Linked DNA regions of Homo sapiens: region 1 is linked to region 2. Evidence: promoter capture Hi-C in human tissues and cell types (Jung and others, 2019). All regions are on one chromosome and are shown on one strand. Each heading gives the region's core, a stretch centred on a gene start or on the middle of the fragment in contact. The rest is flanking DNA. Distances are from core to core; before and after follow the strand shown.

Region 1 (2,700 bases), core at 170-2,669, 45 kb before region 2:
GGAGAGAGACTCCATAGCTAGCAATGAATTCTCAAAGGGGTCATTAACTTTGAAAAGTTAGAAACTGTTGAACTAGATTGTCCGTGTGGCACCTGAACCAAGCATAGTACCGCATTCAGAGACACAGTCAGAGACAGAGCAGTAGCTCCCTCCAGGAGGTACTGCCCCTTCCTAATGAATTGGCCCAAGAGTGCAGAAGCTTTTGGAGCAAGCCCATCCATTATAAATTCCCCACAGACTGTTGTCAGCCAAGACCCTCGCGTCATCATCACATGAATTCTGCCAGATTCCCTCCGCCCTGTCCTTGGTCATTTGATATTGAAGTTAAAGGCAGAGCTTCTACATTAGCCTCTGTCAGATTTCAGCATAGTATTCCACACCCTCTGATAATCATTAATAATAAATGGATCACAATGGCTAATGCGTATTGAACACTCTTCTGCTCCAGGCACCACGTGAAATGCTTTACACACGCTATCTCATTTAATCCTCCCAAAAGTCGCATACAGAAGATATTATCATCTCCATCATTTTATAATGAGGAAACTGAGCTTCAGAGAGGGTAAGGAAATTGCTATACTGAGCTAGGACTTGTGCCCAAACTCTCAACCGTTCAGCTACAACAGACTCCAATATTTCTTCTCCTTAACCACCCTGCCTTAGTCAAGAGACTCAGTGTTTCTTACCAGTTCCCTGTTTCCAATATTTTCCCTACACGGGGCCACAAGAAGTAATTCTCCTAAAACACTATCAAATCAAATCTGAACCTTTCATATACCTATCATTTAAAAAACATGTAACTCGCCAGGCACAGTGGCTCACACCTGTAATCCCAGCGCTTTGGGAGGCTGAGTCGGGCGGATCACGAAGTCAGGAATTCAAGACCAGCCATGGTGAAACCCCGTCTCTACCAAAGACACAAAAATTAACTGGGCATGGTGGCATGTGCCTGTAATCCCAGCTACTCAGAAGGCTGAGGCAGGAGAATTGCTTGAACCAGGACCTGGGAGGCAGAGGTTGCAGTGAGCCAAGACTGCAATATTAGGTAACACACCAGAAATTACATGATCACCTCCCTTTTCAATTTTTGTGTTCTTGACATAGTGGCCATAGAAATGGACCCAGACTGTAGGTTAGAATGGTTGGCAGAATTTCCCTGGATGTCCTGCCTTCCAGATCTCACAGCCAACCCAAATCTCTTTTCTGTCAGTAGCCTCAGTCAGCTGAGAAGCCACTGCACTCTAGCCTGGGCTGCAGAGCAAGACTCAGTCTCAAAACAAAACAAAACAAAACAAACAAACCAACAAACAAAAACACATAACTCACCGGTTTAAAATCCCAATATATATGCAGTCTATTCTTAGCTGCCTTGGAGCATGGTTCTAAGGTGGGCTTCTCCGCCTTGCCAGGGTCTGTCAGGCAGCGATCACTAGCACTGGCCTCTGCAATCAGTTGTCCCACATAGAGCTCCCCAGTTAGGTGATAGTAGACATTCTAAAAAAAAAAAAAAAAAAAAAAAAGCAGAGGGCTCACCATAGGCATTGTCAGCCAGCAGGAGACCCTAGCCCGAGGGACAGCAGGAAGAATGATCTTGGGGCCCCTAGACACCCAGTCACACCAAGAGCACTGAACCTTCCTGGACAACATGAAGCAACCTCTGCTTCCTTCTCCTTAGTCTCTCCTTGAATCCAGGGAGAAGGCCAGGCCTAGGAGGGTTCCAACAGAATCATAGCTTACATGGATGAAGAAGCTTGTCTTTGAAGAAAAAACAAAACTGAACTCCAGAATCTGTCACTGCAGGCCTCAGCTATGGGTTTGTTGTCAGAAAACCTTTCAAATTCCTGGTCTGACACTATCTTGCTCAGTGAGCTTGGACAAGTAGGTTATTAATGTGTCTCCATTTTTTCAACTAAGTGCAAATGATATCTATTGTGCATGCCTCAAAAGGTTGCTATGAGGGCAGCATGCAAAGTAAGAAGACAGATGTGAATATTGTCCCTAAAAAAAAAAAAAAATGTCCAGGCCAGGTGCGGCGGCTCCAGCCTATAATCCCAGCACTTTGGGAGGCCAAGGTGGGCGGATCACGAGATCAGGAGATCGAGACCATCCTGGCTAACATGGTGAAACCCCGTCTCTGCTAAAAAAAAAAAAAATACAAAAAATTAGCCGGGCATGGTGGCAGGTGCCTGTAGTCCCAGCTACTAGGGAGGCTGAGGCAGGAGAATGCCGTGAACCCAGAAGGCAGAGCTTGCAGTGAGCTGAGACCGCGCCACTGCACTCCAGCCTGGGCGACAGATCGAGACTCTGTCTCAAAAAAAAAAAAAAAAAAAAAAAAAAAAAAATCCCCTGACTGCACCTTCCACATGGTGCCAGGGCCCTTCCATCCCTTGGAGGAGCGTCTGCTCAGCCTCTATCCTCTCTAGCTCTGCTTCCTTCGCTATAGGAGAAGCACAGGTGGCTTCACCTGTCCACTTTCCCAGGCTTTCCAGTAGCAGTGAGAAGATGGCGGGAGCAGTGGGAGGAGGGGAAAAGGAAGGGACCAGAGGTGATTGTCAATGCAAATATCACCATGCAGAATGAATGTGACAGAGCATAGCTTTTCTACCTATCCTCCCTGTAACTGAAATGGAACTACGTTGCCACGGCTTTCTGAAGAAACTAAGACGTGCTCAGTTACAAGTGCAGGTCTGGATTTCACCC
Region 2 (2,700 bases), core at 152-2,651:
TCCCCCAGCCCGACACCCGTAAAGGGTCTGTGCTGAGGAGGATTAGTAAAAGAGGAAGGAACGCCTTTCTGCAGTTGAGACAAGAGGAAGGCATCTGTCTCCTGCCCGTCCCTGGGCAATGGAATGTCTCGGTGTAAAACCCGATTGTATATTCCATCTACTGAGATAGGAGAAAACCGCCTTAGGGCTGGAGGTGGGACATGCGGGCAGCAATACTGCTGTTTAAGGCATTGAGATGTTTATGTGTATGCATATCTAAAGCACAGCACTTAATTCTTTACCTTGTCTATGATGCAGAGACCTTTGTTCACGTGTTTATCTGCTGACCTTCTCTCCACTATTATCCTATGACCCTGACACATCCCCCTCTCCGAGAAACACCCAAGAATGATCAATAAATACTAAGGGAACTCAGAGGCTGGCGGGATCCTCCGTATGCTGAACGCTGGTCCCCTGGGCCCCCTTATTTCTCTCTACATACTTTGTTTCTGTGTCTTTTTCTCTTCCAAAGTCTCTCGTTCCACCTAACGAGAAACACCCACAGGTGTGGAGGTGCAACCCACCCCTTCAATAGGCCTAAGGACAGGTCTATGGCCCTTGGGATTCTTATTCTTCTCGTTGCCTGCACATATGTAGATATAATGATAATGCATGTGCACAAGCCCACACACGCATACACACACACATGCTCACCTCCCCCATACTGCTTGCTCTAATTTCCACTTCTACTCACTTCATTCTCAATACCCATCTCCCATTTGAAGGCACAGAATTCAGTGTCAGATGCTTCAATGAGCGACTGAGATGAAAATGTGACCTCTCACCCATTTTTCCTTCCATATCCCTTTTTCCTAAGTGCCCCAAACACACACACCCACACACACACCTTCCAGGTTAGCATTGTAAACTTACTCAGATCCTGCAATTCCACCTCCAAGTGGGAGAGTCTCTTTATCACTGCCCCGTAGCGTTTATTCAGATGTAAAGGAAGCTCCCTGTGGAGACCACCCGTAAACAGGTTTTGTAAAGTCCCCTTGCTAGAAAATACCAGAAGGAGATTGACAGCAATGGCCAGAGTCAGCCCAATGAAGAGGGCTTTGGGGAGTTTCCTCCAAAACATCATCTTCTTCCTGGGGGTCGTCCACTCCCTGTGGGACTGAGTGTGTCACTGCTGGAGCAGGTTAAGAATCAGAACCAGCCTAGCTTTTGTGGGAAAGAGAGTTCTAGGTGCCAGTTGAGTTGGTCTCCCCTGTGTGAGACACCCATGGGAAGCCACGGGTGGCCTCTGAGGAGCAAAGTCTCCTTATTGCCTTCTTTGTCTTTATGCCCCGAGAGGATAACCGCTCAGCGGCTTTCCACAGGTTGCTCAGCGGCTTTCCACAGGTTGCTCAGGGAGATAACACTCCCTTGAAGCAGAGGAGTATAATCAAACATCTTGGCTCCTCCTGAAACCCACTCCCACCCATTTCAGTCATTAAAGATCTTAAGTAGTTTAGACACACGCCTTTGCTCAAGGAAATTCACAGAAACCGCCACTGTTACACATCTTATCGAATGACTCACTGATTAATCCTTTTCCTCATCCCTTCCTCCCCTTCCCATCTGCCCTAAGAACAAAGAGCTTGTAAACCAATAAATTGGGTGGAGCCCAGAGCTCTGGGCCGTGAGCAAGCCTCCAACGCTCTGGTCCCCTGGACCTGCCTTTTAAACGCTTGTTCTGTCTCTTTCTAACTCCTTTGTCTCCGCCGGACTCGGGGTATCCGCTGGGTGGTGTGGGGCTGGTTTCCCCAACAGCTTTCTCTCCACCCAGCTTCATAGATGACACCCTGCCTGCTAGGCCAGATGTTCTCCGGCCAAGAACACTATTATAGCTGCCTGGCTTCTCCCTGAGCAGCGTCAGGTGTGAGGAGTGCGCATGGCAGCTGCCCAGTGACAGGTAAGTCACCTGGACACACCTTGTACTGTCTCAGAAGTCAGAAGAATGCTTGCTCCTGCAGCTAGCTCAGGCTGCCTGGGTGAGAGGCTTTTCTCTATATATGTTTGTTTGATGTTTAATGTTCTCTCTCCCTGGAAAAACCACCTGGGAGACTCTGATAGGGCATGTGAGGTCTGGTCCTGTGGGTATAAGAAGGGGATAAATAGGATGAAGAAGAAATCACGAAGCAAGAAGTCTCTGTACACTTAGATCCTTGCTTTTTTGGAGAGCTGGGATCTAAGATGTCTTTTTACCTAACTCTACAGGGTTTTGGACATAGTAGGTGTGCAACAAATGCTTGTCCCACAAACTTAAGGACAGACTTTCTTGCTAGTTCCTAGGACTTCACTGCCTAGAAGCAGGTGGAGAAGAGCTGGAGGCGGTGCCCGGGGTTGAGCCTCAGGGGATGACTCCGATTCACTGGTCTCTGTCCTTTGCTTGTCCTCTGCACAACTTCATACACTGGGCTTCTGCCCTGCCCCAGCTTCCAGTAACTCCTTTGCCTCCACACCTCACACTTATAATATGTTTTGGACAAATCACCAGTGATCATCATTGTAGAATAAACACATAAAATTGTTCCCCAAGGCTAAAAGTTCAAAGTTCTCAGTCTACTGTCAATCCCGTCAAAATCACAGCTTCCACCCCGGCCTGGCTCTTTGGACTATTTACTACGTCCCAAACACAGCACATGGTGACATGTGCTGAGGCGGACATGTGGATTA

What was found. Contacts are between HindIII fragments. The study calls those that stand out against the background at their distance.
Region 1: a contact is called between a fragment that was not itself captured here and the fragment with the promoter of GALNT8 in region 2, in 1 of the 25 tissues and cell types used here (dorsolateral prefrontal cortex).

Annotation. Positions count from the first base shown.
Region 1 is chr12:4,764,173-4,766,872 of GRCh38, reverse strand. GALNT8 (polypeptide N-acetylgalactosaminyltransferase 8) reads right to left here. Exons shown (of 11, transcript NM_017417.2): 10 at 1,327-1,494. Among named protein-coding and RNA genes, the nearest start is that of KCNA6, 44 kb to the left of the region's middle. RefSeq lists an enhancer at 2,598-2,700. The HindIII fragment of the contact is 3,209 bases long and covers 1-2,700 here.
Region 2 is chr12:4,719,101-4,721,800 of GRCh38, reverse strand. GALNT8 (polypeptide N-acetylgalactosaminyltransferase 8) reads right to left here and starts at 1,401. Exons shown (of 11, transcript NM_017417.2): 1 at 913-1,401. The coding sequence starts at 1,123. It overlaps GAU1 (GALNT8 antisense upstream 1), which reads left to right and starts at 1,699. Exons shown (of 4, transcript NR_110112.1): 1 at 1,699-1,936. RefSeq lists enhancers at 1-288, 289-1,284, 1,285-2,280. The HindIII fragment of the contact is 21,668 bases long and covers 1-2,700 here.